Regions from separate parts of the Homo sapiens genome. Here regions 2 and 3 are each linked to region 1. The links are contacts of gene promoters, found by promoter capture Hi-C in blood cells and fetal thymus (Javierre and others, 2016). All regions are on one chromosome and are shown on one strand. Each heading gives the region's core, a stretch centred on a gene start or on the middle of the fragment in contact. The rest is flanking DNA. Distances are from core to core; before and after follow the strand shown. Region 1 holds the start of SNHG8 (small nucleolar RNA host gene 8). Region 2 overlaps NDST4 (N-deacetylase and N-sulfotransferase 4). Region 3 has its middle 160 kb from the start of NDST4.

Region 1 (4,926 bases), core at 1,422-3,921:
TTAGAATTTGTCAACAAAATTTTATACTCCCCTCAAGACGGGCTAATTTCCCTCCCCTTGAATGTGAGCTGGCATTAATAACTAACTTCTAACAAGTGATGGTGTGTAGGCCACAATAAAAAGTGTTGGAGCTTCCTCTCTTGAGTCACTCACTCTGAGGAAAGCCAGCTGCCACGAGAATCATGAGGACAGTCAAGCAGCCCTATGGAGAGATTCACATGCTGAGGAATTGAGGCTTCCTGCCAACAATGAGCATTAACTTGTCAGGTCTGTGAATGAGCCACCTTGAAAGAGAATCCTGCCGCACCAGCCCCAGTCAAGCCTTCAGATGGCTGCAATGCCAGTCAACATCCTGACTGCAACCTCACAAGATACACTGAGCCAGTTAAGCTGCTCTTAGATTCCTGACCAACAAAAACTATTTGAGATAGTAAGTGCTTATTTTTTTTTAAGCTACTAGGCTTTAGGCTAATTTGATATACAGCAATCGATAACTAATACATTGGTTGATACAAAAATATATCAAATACTGAAAATAAAGGATAGGGAAAAATAAGAACTAATTTCTTTGCTTTGAACTTTGAATGATTTGGAAAACATTGTAATGGCACTAACTGTAAGTTACTCAATTATATTCTCAAGTCTTGAGGCAAAGGCCATGTCTGCTCAATAAACATTTGCTGGAGTCTAGTAAATGTTTAACAACTGAACAAGATGTTCAGAACTGACAAGAATATTTTAATATAGATAGGAGGGAACGTCCATCTCCTCTCTTTTGGACACTATGCTTTTTTTTTAACACTAGATCATACTGCAATACACTATACTTTTATTACTGCAGCAAAACCAATTTTTACAGCAGAAGTATCACGCTGCTAGTATACACTGGAAGTTTAGATTTGCTAAGTGTTTTAAGATAGAAATAAGTCCACAGGTTATTTCCTCACTATATTTTCTCCTATTCATCTCAGCATTCATATGACAGATGTGCCATTCTATGTTAAATTTTTCTGATGACTACCAGTTTCAACACTAAACCACAAAAGGAAAAAAGATATAGTGCAGGGAAAAGCATTGTTGAAGAATAAATATTCTATAATGAACTGTTCACTCCATGTATCAAAAGCAGAACTGAAATGTTACCTAGCCATCATTTGATCAGTTCTAACAGGTTCACCTTGCATTCTATCTTTAAAATCCTTAGGCTGGGCGCAGTGGCTTGCACCTGCAATCCTAGCACTTTGGGAGGCCGAGGAAAGAGGATTACTTGAGCCCAGGAGCACAGGAGATCAGCCTGAGGGCAATATAGTGAGGGCTTGTCTTTCAAAAAAAAAAAACCTTAAAAAAAAAGTAGCCAAGTGGTGGCACACGCCTAGCAGGAGGCTCGCTTGAGCCTAGGAGGTGGAGGTTGCACTGAGCCAAGATCATGCCACTGCACTCCAGGCTAGGCAACAGAGCAAGAATGTTTCTAAATAAATAAATACATAAAATAAAATCCTTAAGCCAATCTTCATTTACCAACCAATTTTTAATTCTTTTATTTGTTACCACATTGTCTCTCCTGAATATCCAAAGGCTCAAAGCCTTGGTTTGAATGCAGCTAAATTCATTGGGTTTGATCTCAAGTCAAACTTAGAAATACTGTCATCTCAGCCACAAATTTCACACTAAAGTAGATAGAAACCACTACTAAATCACTACTTTGTCTTAAAATGAAAGTATAATAGACTGTAAGGTTATAATTGCTTTTTTAAGTTAAACTTTGTTTTACATTTACAGAAAATTTGCAAAAATGGAGTCCCCACACCCCCTTCATCCAATTTCCCCTACCATTAATATCTTACAATACCATGGTATATCTGTCACAATAAAGAAATCGGTATTGGCACTATTACCTAAATTCCACACTTTGTTCAGATTCGCTAGTTTTCCATTAATGTCCTTTTTCTGCTGGAGATCCCAGCCAGGATACCACATTACATTTAATCATTATGCATCATTTTCTCTGGCATAATAGTTTCTCAGACTTTTCTTGTTTTTGAGTAGTGATTAGGTAATTTGTAAAATGCTAACCAGCGATCTCAGCTCACCATAACTTCCGCCTCTCGGGCTCAAGAGATTCTCCCACCTCAACCTCCCGAGTAGCCGGGACTACAGGCGTTCACCACCACACCAGGCTAATTTTTGTATTTTTAGTAGAAACGGGGTTTCGCCATGTTAGCCAGGCTGGTCTCCAACTCCTAACCTCAAGTGATCCGCCCGCCTCGGCCTCCCAAAGTGCTGGGATCACAGACGTGAGCCACCGCGTTCGGCCCCTTTTTCTAATATTGTCTAAAATAAGTATCCTAAACAGGAAATACCAAAAAAATCCCCCTCGCTTTCGTGACCTACACCGGTAAGCGTCAGGATCTTTCGCTATGCGAGAACCTTTTGGCTCTCGTATGTGCGCATGCGTCTGGATCCGGAGCCAGGTGACCCGCTCAGACGTGGACCATGTGCGGGGGAGGGGGGAAAGGAGCCGCGAAGGGGGTGGTAGACGGAACAGGTGGAGCCGCGGCGGGGCTAGGCGGGGCGGGGAGTGAAACAGCATAGGCTCCGCCCCTCGCGGCGCTTCCCCCGGAATAGCGTCATCAGTTCTATAAGAGAGCGTGTGCCGAAGGCCTCGGCCTTTCACATTCGGGAAGCGTCGGGATTAGGTGAAAGTACGTAGTTGTCTTTCGTAAGTTAAAATGATAATTGGGCCGAAACTTACTGCCTTACCTAAAAGGCAGCGCAGTCAGGATATTGGTAGGTCGGGGGCGGCTTTGGAAACCCTTAAGTTTACAAGCATGCGCGGACTTGAGTGCTCATTAGGTCGCCGGGCGTCCACGTGCAGCCCTGGACCCTGAACCCCGGCGTGCGTGGGCCGTGGGCCCTCGGGGAAAGGTTCCGTGCACTCGGGGACTCCGGTGAAGCCTGTTCAGCCGTCTGTGTCATGTGGCCATCTTGAGTCTACTCTGTCGCTCTTGTGCCCTAGCACCCCGAGAACCGTCAGTTTGAGCCAGATGGTGAGTAATAACCTGTAGCAGTTTGGTTGCTGGTTAATTCTGGATTGTGAATCTCCATGTATCTTTGGGACCTGTCAGCCGTGGCAGTCTCCCTTCCTAGCCATGGAAGAGCATATCCTTGTTTATTGGCAAAGCTGTCACCATTTAATTGGTATCAGATTCTGACTTGCACAAGTAACATTCACTGTTAAAAACCTAGAGGGTGCCGGGTTATTGGGCAAAATTTCTAAACCGTTGTTCAATGTTTCTAGGAAGCTGAGCTGAACACATTACGATGGATGATGGAAACATAAGGTACATTTCTTTTTTGATATTTCTGAGTTAATCTGAAACGCCTTAGCGGCAGGACGTTGGAAAGCTAAAGTTGGCCCGTTTTGCTGGCTTTTGTAGTTTGAGTTAACAACCAACTGAATTAGCTGATAAGATCTCAAAACAGTGAGGTAAGTACACAGCTCGGAGTTTTATAATGCTTTTTTTCTCTTGCAGACTATCAAGAAATCCAAGTGGTAATGGGCGAAGTTTATTCAGCATCCGGCAATGGACTTATCGTAGTTGGGGAAACGGGTGTTCCGAATAATATCCTGGAAGTTATCAGGACACCTATTTTAAATATAGGCCTGAATTTTGTAAAGTAATATTTAAGGTGGTCCGTGATAATTAAATAAAATGCTTAATTCATGTGGCTACTCATTGTTCCTTGACTGAGTGATTAATAGACGGAAAGGTAGTTAATAGCATAATACCTCCTATTTAGTGTTACACGCTCATGTGGAAGTAGTGTGAGTACAGTTCTAAGGTAATTGCAGCCTTTGTGAAAAATGTAAAATATAAAAATTACCAGGCTACCCCCAAGGGAGACAGCAGACTCTTTTTAAACCATACAAAAATTTAAGGCAGTTATACAAGGTGGAAAATTATGTATTTATTTACACAAATATGCACAGAACACTTGTATCTTTCAAAAGTCACACTTAAGACATAGTAAAAGCATGTTGTATGAACCATGTATTCTTAAGGATTGAGCAAACTGCAGGCTGCTTGCTGCCTTTTAGGTTTGCTAGTCCCTGATCTACTTGAAACAGATGTTGCTTGCCCCAACACTAGTTTAATTATAAGGGCAGCCTGTGAGAAAGTTTCAATAGACATTTTTCTCACCTATATTGCACGTTTTTCTGAAGCCCTTGTGCAAGTGTGTGTGCCATGTGTAGTTCTATTTACATATAAACGCTACTTTAAAAGTTTATCAAAATCATGAGTTTTTACAAAAGTTTTTAATGCTCTTCTGCATTATATGCAGCATTGCAAATCTGCAAAGTAGTAAAACTATAAAGCACCTTTAGGTTTGCACCAGTTATTACAGAAATGGGGATTTGTGAAAAGGATGTAATTTGATGTAGAAGGGCAAAGTCCTTTAATGACTGGCATTCAAGAGGATTACTTAAAACAATTTGTAAGTTCATGCTAACCTCTTCCCTATATTTATACTACTGGGACCTGGGGAAGGATCCATGACATGGAAGTATCTTGAGTGTGCCTTTTAAATTTGAGCATTACTGCTAAGAATGTTCTGTAAAGGTGCATAGTTAAGCAGCTATCCCTTAACTCTTGGAGAAATAGCCATAGGGAAACCAATCATTTAGGTAGGAGAACCATGGGGAAAAAAATCAGCATTTTTTCTGGAGTTTGGAATCAGTTTCACCAACTGGTCTCACTTTGAGGCAAGCCTGTTTTCCCCCATTTGAAAACAAGGGCTACTACCATAAGATTTACTGGCCTTTTGCAAATTGTCAGTGATGTGCAAAGCTGCCTAATGCAGTGCCTGGCATATGTTATAACTGCTGTATGTATTAGAACTTTTCAATGTGTAGGCCAGGAAAGC
Region 2 (4,926 bases), core at 877-3,376, 3.2 Mb before region 1:
CTCTTTTTAGTTCATTAACTATCTTTTCTCCTAGATGACTGTTTCATATTTTTCTCTATCTTCAAACTTCTAACATTTCTTTCCTTTTCATTGTTCTCATCTGATAATCTTGCTTTCTATTTCATAGAGAGCACAGTAGCAAGCAGACAAGGATTTTCATAAGCACTCAAACACTTATTCCCTATGTGAGTGTATGTTCTCTTTAGGATGAGTTATCCATTCTAGCTAAGGACACCCTCCTTAGCTAGAACAAGTGTTCACCAGTTCTAATGCATTATCACTTACTCACTGAAGATATTGCTTCAGTAATACTTTTCACACTCCCATGTAGCAATAATATTTTCCTTCTCGACTAAAATATCCATTCTAACACAGGCATTCTGTTCTTTTTTATCATGATTCACTTACTTCACAATCTATCGCTATATTTTGTTCCTGTCTACAGCAAAACTGTTTGAAATGCTAAGTCCAATTTTTCTAGGACCTACTCCAATCAGGCTTACCATCACAACTTCATTGAAATTTATTTTATAAATGTCACCAATAAACTTCACGTTGTAAAATCCATTTATCAATTTTTGCTCCTCATCTTATCTTACTTTACCTATAAGCGGCATTTTATACCCCTGATCATCCCCTCAACCGCACAGAAACTATCTTTAGTAAGCTTCTAGGAAATCGTATATTTCAGTTTCTTTATGACTTAGTCACAATTTATGTTTTTTCTTAATCCTTACCTTCTAAATGTGAAGTTCCCCAGGGCCTATTCTTTACTCTTCTACTCTTTTCTATTTATATTCACTTCCTTGGGATATCTTACAATGTTCTAGTTTTAAGTACTATTGATAAAGTTGACTTCAAAGTTTACGCTTCCAGCTAAATCTATTACCAACTCCTGTTTGTATATCTAACCACATATGTGATATTTTCACTTGGAAATCTAATGGGCATTTCCAACTTAAATGAGACCAAACCTGATTATCTGATATTTTCCTTTATCCTAAACTTATTCTTCCCACTGTTTCTCCATATAAGTAAATGATGCTTAATTTTTAAATTTGTTTAGGAACTCTCTTTCTCTCTATCTCTATTGGGGCTGGCCATTGACTCCTCTCTTTCTTTCCCGTCAGACATACCAGGCATCCCATCCATTGGCTCTACCCATAAAATATATCTTGAATCTGAACATATCTTAACAATTCCCATGGCTATCACCTCTGCACAAATTAGCATTATTTCTCCACTGGACTATTGAAATTTCTTTCTAATTGATCTCTGCCTAAGCCCTTGCTCCACATCATTTTTTTCCCAATACATTGACCAGGGTCCTCATTTTACAATGTAATTAAGGTTATGTCTCTCCTCTGATCAACTCCCCACCACCAAAATCGGCCCTAATTTTACTTAGAGTAACAGCCAAATTCACAGAGTGGTCCACACAGTTCTACCAAGTATTCTACTACATCTTCCCTACTGGGCCTCTCTATATTCTCCAAACATGCTGTGTTCTTTACATATGTACTTCTAGGCTTCTGGACTTCTTGTTTCTTCTTGCCTAGAATACTTGTGAACCAGATATAAACATGGCAGATGTCCTCATTTCTTTTAATCTTTTATTCAAATGTAATATCCTCAGTATAGTTGTTTCCGGTTTCCCGGTGCAAAATTGCAAGCTCCCTCCTTACACTTCCTAAACCCTGCTTGGTTGTGTGTGTAATACTAACAATCTATTACACCATATACATAATATTACATTTCTTCTTGTCTATCACTCCAATTAAAATGCAAACTCTTTGAAGCTGGAATATTATTCTGTTCTGTACCTTTTATTCCTAGTTCCTATATCTCTCTTTACAAACGAGTAGCAAGAAATTGGATTGAAAAGGTAGGTAGGTAATAGAAGATAAAAAGGTCTTACTCAAATTCTAGAGAGTTTAAATTTGTTTAAAATTGGACAACTATTGAAATACTTCGATGTGAAGACTGACATGGTAAACATTTCCTTTTAGAAAGTTATCTTTTGAGGAACTAAGAGGGTGGATTAAAGCCAGCAGGTAGGAGACCAGTTAATAATTAGTTACAATAGTCCAGAGGAAGACTTAAAAATGAAAATATGGATTAAAAAGAACACGCAAAGTATATTTGGAAAGCAAAAGACTCACAGTCACCAATTCAATATTAAAGGAGAATAACAAAGTTGGAGGATAGATACTAACAAACTTCAAGATTCAAGGTTTATTATAAAGCTATAGTAATCAAGACACCGTGGTGTAAATGAAAGAACAGACCAGAATAGTGATCCCAAAAATAAACTCACAAAAATATTGTCGATTAATGTTTTCCTTTTCTTTTTTATTTTTTAATCAGGTTCCCCCTCTGTCACCCAGGCTGGAGTGCAGTGGCATGATCACAGCATGGCTAACTGCAGCTTAGCCCTCCTGGGATCAAGTGATCTTCCCACCGCAGCCTTCTGCATAGCTAGGACCACAAGCATGTGCCACCACACCTTGCTAATTTTTTTTATATACATATTTTGTAGAGACAGTGGTCTCACTATGTTACCTAGGCTGGTCTTGAATTCCTGGGCTCAAGCAGTCCTTCCACATTGGCGTCCCAAAATGATGGGATTACAGGCATGAGCCACCATGCCCAGATGTCAAGTATCTTTGACAAAAGAACAAAGGTAATGCAATGCAGAAAGGATAGCCTTTTCAATAAACCCTGCTGGTACAACAGAACATCCACATGCAGAAACAGTGATTTACACACAGACTTTACAACCTTTTTAATAATTAACTCAAGTGAATTTTAGACTATTTGTAGATATAAATTTATTGAAATGTAAATGTAAAATACATAACTATAAGACTCTTAGAAGATCATATAGGAGAAGATCTAGATGACCTTGATTTTTTTTTACTTAACACAAAAGGAACAATCCAAAAAAGAAAGAATTGATACGTTTAACATTATTAAAGTAATAAACTTTTGCTCGGTGGCAGACACTCTGAAGAGAAAGATGACAGGCTACAAACTGGGAGAAAATATTTGCAATAGCCGTATCTGATAAAGAACTGTTTTCCAAAATATACAAAGAACTCTTAAAATTCCATAGTAGAAAAACAACCCAATTCAAAAATGGGAAATAAAAACCTAAATAGATACCTCCTTAATGAAAAAATACAAATGGCCATTTAGGATATGAGAAGATGGTACACATCATATGGTACTGGGGAGTTGCGAATTAAAGTATCAATGAGATGCCAGTACACACCTTTTAGAATGGGTAAAATCTAAAACAATGACAACACTAAATGCTGGGGAGGACATAGAGCAACAAGTGCTCTCATTCATTGCTGGTAGGAATGAAAAATGATACAGCCACTTTGCAAGACAATTTGGCAGTTTCTTACAAAGCTAAACATAGTCATATTATCCAGCAATCATGATCCTTGGTATTTACTCAATGAGTTAAAAAATTTACATTCACACAAAAATTTGCACACAGATGTTTTATTGCAGCTTTATTTATAGATGCCAAGGCTTGGAAGCTACCAAACTGTCCATCAAAAAGTGAATGAATAAATAAGCTTTGGTACATCTGTACGGTGAAATATCATTCAGCTCTAAAAATAAATGATCTATCAAGCCACAGAAATACATGGATGAACATAAAATGCATATTAGTAAGTGAAATAATCTAATCAGAAAAGGTTATATACTATATAATTCCATTTATATGAAATTCTGGAAAAGGCAAAACTATAGAGTGAGTGAAAGGATCGGTGGTTATCACAGGTTTGGGAGCAGGGAGAGAGGGATGAATAGGTGGAACACAGGTGATATTTAGGGTAGTGAAATTTTTCTATTTAATACTATGAAAATTAATACATAATTAAAAAGTAATGACAATACAACATTTGTTGAAACCCATAGGATATAAAACACCAAGTGTGTGCCCTGATGTAATCTGTGGACTTGGGGTGATAATGACCTGTCAGTACTGGTTTCTTGATTGTAGGAGATGGTGGTGGGAAAAGTTGTACACAGAGAAATATGGAAAGTCTTTGTACTTTCTGTTCAATTTCTGCTGGGAATCTTAAAGTGCTCTAAAAAGTTAAGTCTATTCAAAAAAAGAGCAAGCTGTTTCATGACATTTATATATAACTTTCTAGCTCTTATAAATTTGTAGCCCTATGTGGGCTACTATTACACATGCACAGTAGGATACATTTAAGAAGCACAGTTTAAGAGCCACAATACTTTATTTAAAAGGAATTATGTTCTTCACGTATATTTCCTTAATAACATTAAATAGTCTGATTCATAAGACAAAATGACACTTCTAAAATACCTGTTTCTCTACTCTTCAATTTCCCTGCACCCCAAAGCACGGAGAATTTCTGGAAATCCTCTCATTACAATACCTCGTTTCTGACAAATGCTTCACTCCTTTTTTTTTTTTTTCCCTCCTGCTCTGCCCTCCTTTCCTTAAGTTCCTATTGTACTGATAATTAACCTCACATTCAGAAAGCAAGATGCCCTTATCTTTAAGGGGAAGTAAAAAGCGTGGATGGTTATGTTGTTTGTTAAAGAGACAAGGTCGTGAATATTTTCATATGAATTATTTTTGTCCCATCACATAATAAATAGAAGTGTCATGATTTGGTGATTGATTGGATGTAGAGGAAAAAAAAATCACCCAAAGACTTCAGGCTTTCACAGTCATTCATTTAAAATTGATTGAATGCTCTCTAATAGCCAGATGCACTATCCATCTGACAAACACTATCTCTACTCTTCAAAAGCAATGGAAGTTTATTCTGTGACATATTCTATGACATAAAAAGGCAATTGCAATAAGGCATGATAAGTGTAATAGTGGGGAAGATACAAAGTTATTTAGAAGTAGAGAAGTGTGAGGAG
Region 3 (4,926 bases), core at 1,374-3,873, 3.0 Mb before region 1:
CATAAATACTTTCCCCATATGTCTGTCAAACTGCTACTTTTAAAATTCACATTGTTACATAAAATAAATGATGTGAAGCACAAATTTCACTAAAATTTATTTTTCATATAATGACTATACTTTCTATTACAAATAAATGTAAAAGAAGTAAAGCAGTTTTAAAATCACTTTTCTAGAAGTATATTATTTCAAATATAAAATAATTTGTTTTCCTCATTAATAAGTCAAAATAAAACCACAGACTACTGATTTTTAAATCACTTTGCATATGTGATAGCTGTTACTATACTTCTCATTATACAGTGTTTCAAACAATTTCTTTCTAAAATTTAATCAAAAATGAATATATTTTGAAAATGAATGCATAAATATATATGGAACTCCTTTGGCTTTCACATGACTTTAATATAAGAGCTGGTTGTAGCTTTTGAACAAAACAAACAAAAAATAAGAATAAGCTTCTTTGTGGAATTACTCTAAGGGTTTTGTTTTTGTCACTATAAATAACCTGCTGGTTTCCATACATACATTTTGTATAAACTTGATATTATAAACACAATGAATCACAGATTTTAAAACAATTATCCATTATTTACCTTGTATTATTTTGTTCTAACTTAGATTCTGATCTATCTCACTAAACCACAGAGTAATCTATGAACCAGAGTGAATGAGAGAAGGCTCAAATTGCTTTTTTAAGTGCATTAGACTCTGACAAATGAGTAGGTTCAATTTTAAGATCCATTCTATATGTTCTGTGGAATCTGTAAGAGAAAGAAATGAGAAATAGGATATTAAAATGTCATCAAAGGAGGAATAACTTCAGAAAATCTAATAAAAAATGTTGGGGCAAGTGGTAGCATAAATGAGACTATAATTTCTTGTCATATTTATTACCATAATATTTTCTATTTTTCTGCTCTCTGCTTTCCAAGAACCTGCAGAGATTGGCCAATTGTTGGACAATAGCTGTGTTCTCTTCCTCTTTGGCACTCTGCTAGACTTTTCTCAAGCTGTCACTTGGAGACATGTGACAGAGCTGTGGCCAAAGCAATGTCAGTTTAAGTGATAGACACCACTTCCAAGCCTGATTGCCTGTAAAATTTCTGGCATAATGTGCCAAATTATCTTGCCTTCCTCGCTTGCTGGCAAGATGCAGAGGATCTAGTGAATGATTCCAATTTTCTAAGGAAGACGTATAAAAAAGAGAAGGCTTGATCTTTGAATGACACTATGAAGTAGAGTTTCCCAAAGATCAACTGTCATTGAACTCCACTGCAAATAACAAATAAACTCTGAGAAGTTGGAAAGTTGTTAAAATAGTAATTACTGTGATAATACTTAGCATGAATAACATGGATATATATTGGTTGTTAGTTGTCTGTAGTCGCCTTTTCATGGTATTGAAATATGTTGAACATCACAATAGGACAAAGTTTTCCATTTGTAAAAAGTATTACTTAAATGTTTCACCTACTCAGTGCACCAGAATCTTGACTAAAATGTGCTCAAAAAGAGATATTTGAACCATACTGGCCTCCAGTGAAACTTGGAGCATATTGTAAAAATTCTTAATCTTGGGATGTAATAAAAGATATAATAGAAATACCTATTTGAATAACAGAATTGAGATTATCACATGACATTACATGTATGTGTATATATGCATATACACATTTATATTATATAATTTAATGTATAGAAGTATGCATATTTTATTTAACACATACTAAGTTTATTATATAATTATAGCAAAGTATGTAAATTATATGTTATACACCTAATATGTAATTAGTTAAAGAAAAAAATCACCATTAAAAACTTGATATGAATGTTAAATATTTCATTTGGCATGGATTTAGAGCTATCCCTTTGCCAGTGTTGCAAAAACAAAGGTCTTTGTTCTCTCTCTCAGTTTTTCTTACTATATTGTTCAGTTATAAGAAGGTTCTCTTTTGTTATACTCATATTTTCGTCCGATGTGTGCTGAGATGTTGTCTTCTTATAAAAGACCTTCAAAATTTGGCGAAGTTGTTGAGTATGTATTTTAAGCACATTCCTTTTTTTTGAGTATTAAATTTTTCAATATTATATTTAAAAAATAAAATAGAATATCACTTTCCTGATAAGAACTATGACGTGTCAAAGAGATTTTATTTTGGTAGAAAATAAAAGACTCACGCCTGTAATCCCAGCACTTTGGGAGGCCGAGGCGGGCGGATCACGAGGTCAGGAGATCGAGACCATCCCGGCTAAAACGGTGAAACCCCGTCTCTACTAAAAATACAAAAAATTAGCCGGGCGTAGTGGCGGGCGCCTGTAGTCCCAGCTACTTGGGAGGCTGAGGCAGGAGAATGGCGTGAACCCGGGAGGCGGAGCTTGCAGTGAGCCGAGATCCCGCCACTGCACTCCAGCCTGGGCGACAGAGCGAGACTCCGTCTCAAAAAAAAAAAAAAAAAAAAAAAAAAGAAAATAAAAGACTACTGGATCAGAAATCAGAAACAAAGGAGTTTATTGCTCACACCAATAACATTGGCCAGACATAGATTGGCAGAATGAAAAAATTTACAAGACCCAAACACCTCCTAGCTTCAGGACACTCATTTTAGATTTAAGGATATGTATACGTTGAAAGTGAAGGGGTGGAAAAAAAATTTTCCATGCAACTCATAACCAAACATTGTAGGGTTGGCTATTCAGTACTTATATCAGACAAAATAAACTTTAAGTAAAAAAATTATCACGAGACAAACCAGTACATTATATAAGGATAAAATTGTCAATTCACTGGAAAGATGTAACAATTGTAGATGTATATGCACTCAACATCAGAGCACCTACAAAGCAAACATGCACAGAATTGAAAGGGGGAACAAACAGCATGCAGTTACTGACTTCTATTGTAGTACACTGTGGTAGCAGACTTATCCCACTTTCAATACTGGAAAGAACATCAAGACAGAAGATCAATAAAGAAACAGAGAAGTTGAATAAAACTATAGACCAATGGACCTAATAGACCTATATACAGAAGATTTCATCCAAATAGCAGTAAAATACACATTCTTCTCAAATTCATGAATATTTCATGAGGATAGGTCACATTTTAGTTCACAAAAATGTCACAAAAAATTTAAGAAGACTGAAACTACACTACATATATTTTCTGACCATAATAAAATAAAAATAGAAATGACTAACATAAGAAACACAGGAAAATTTACAAATAAGTAGATATCGAACAACACACTCTTGGACAACCATGAATCAAAAAAGACATCAAAAGAAAAGTTGAAAAAAAAAAACTCAAGACAAATAAAAATAAAAAACACAATATTCTGGAACCTAAGGGATGCAGCAAAAGCCACAGTAAAGAGAAAGTCTCAAATAAACAACCTAACTTTATACCTCATAAAATAGAGAAAGAACAAATAAACTGTAATTAGCAGTAGAAATAAAATAACAAAGTTTAGAGCAAAAATAAACCAAGTAGAAAATAAAAAAATAAATGAATCTCAGAGTAGGTTTTTTGGAAAAGATAAAATAATTGACAAAACCTTAGCCAGCTTTACTAAGGAAAAAGGACAGAAGGCAGAAATATCAGATATGAAAGAAGAGATATTGTAACTGATACCAGTAATAAGAAAAATCATCAAAAGGTTATAATTGTTCATAATTTTAATATATATTACATATAATATGAACAATATGATGTATATTAGACATATTATTATTAACAATTATATGCTAACAAATTGGATAACCTAGAAGGTTGGATAAACTCCTGGAAACATACAACCTGCCAAAACCAAATCATGAAGAAATAGAAAACTTGAACAGATCAATAATGAATACAGAGACTGAATCAAGAATCCAACATTTTCCAACAATGAAAAGCCCAGGAGCAGATGGCCTCACTGGAGAATTTGATTAAACCTTTAAAGAATTAACACCAATCCTTCTTAACACTCCTAAAAAATTATAAAAAGGGCACATTTCCAAACTAATTTTATAGGTCAGCATTACACTATACCAAAGATAGAAAAACACTCTAGAACAGTTAAAAAAAAATATATAAAAAAAAACCTAGAGGCCAACATTCTTGATTAACATAAATACAAAAATCTTGAAAAAATATGAGCAAACTGAGTTTAGCAGCACCTTAAAGAGATCATATACTGTAACCAAGTGGGCTTGATCTATGGGATGCAAAGATGATTCAACATATGCAAGCCAATTCATGTGATACATCACATTCACAGAATAAAAGATCATGTGATCATCTCAAAACATTGGAGAACATTCGACATTCTTTTGTAATAAAACAAAACAAAACAGATACTCTCAACTCAAAAAACTAGGTACAGACATGCTGTCATAAAATGAAGTTTCAGTCAATAGACTGCCTATATGATAGTGGTCCCATAAGTTTATAATACCATATTTTCACTGTACTTCTTCTGTGTCTAAATATGTTTAGATATATGAATGCTTACTATGGTGTTATGATTGCTACAGTATTCAGTAGAGTAATATGCTGTACAGATTTGTAGCCTAGGGACAGTAGACTATATCATATAACCCAGTTTTGTATTAGGCTATATTAACTAGGTTTGTGTAAGTGCATTCTATGATGTTTGCACAATGATGAATGCCTAAGGAGGCATTTGTCAGAACATATCCCTGTGGTTAAGTGACACATGACTGCATAGAAAGAATTTACCTCAACATAGTGAAGGCTGTATATGACAGGCCTACAGCTAACATCACACTTCATAACAAAAAGTTGAAAGCTTTTTTTAAGAACAGGAATAAGGCAAGCATGTCAACGTTCCCCATTTCTACTCAACAAGGAAGTATAACTTCTACCCAGAGTAATTAGGCAGGAAAACAAGTAAAAGACACCCAAACTGGAAAAGAAGAAGT

What was found. Contacts are between HindIII fragments. The CHiCAGO score rates a contact against its expected background, and 5 or more counts as called.
Region 2: a contact is called between a fragment that was not itself captured here and the fragment with the promoter of SNHG8 in region 1, in 1 of 17 cell types (non-activated CD4 T cells). The highest score is 7.3, in non-activated CD4 T cells.
Region 3: a fragment that was not itself captured here is called in contact with the fragment with the promoter of SNHG8 in region 1 in 1 of 17 cell types (M1 macrophages); the score reaches 6.4 in M1 macrophages.

The regions. Positions count from the first base shown.
Region 1 is chr4:118,276,091-118,281,016 of GRCh38, forward strand. SNHG8 (small nucleolar RNA host gene 8) reads left to right here and starts at 2,672. Exons shown (of 3, transcript NR_034011.1): 1 at 2,672-2,702; 2 at 3,299-3,341; 3 at 3,534-3,733. It overlaps SNORA24 (small nucleolar RNA, H/ACA box 24), which reads left to right and starts at 3,100; the gene lies at 3,100-3,230. It overlaps PRSS12 (serine protease 12), which reads right to left. Exons shown (of 13, transcript NM_003619.4): 13 at 3,948-4,926. RefSeq lists an enhancer at 2,200-2,379 and a silencer at 2,450-2,499. The HindIII fragment of the contact is 13,799 bases long and covers 1-4,926 here.
Region 2 is chr4:115,096,353-115,101,278 of GRCh38, forward strand. The region is part of intron 1 of NDST4 (N-deacetylase and N-sulfotransferase 4); the gene reads right to left. Among named protein-coding and RNA genes, the nearest start is that of NDST4, 15 kb to the right of the region's middle. The HindIII fragment of the contact is 2,923 bases long and covers 666-3,588 here.
Region 3 is chr4:115,274,782-115,279,707 of GRCh38, forward strand. No RefSeq gene overlaps it. Among named protein-coding and RNA genes, the nearest start is that of NDST4, 160 kb to the left of the region's middle. The HindIII fragment of the contact is 4,335 bases long and covers 457-4,791 here.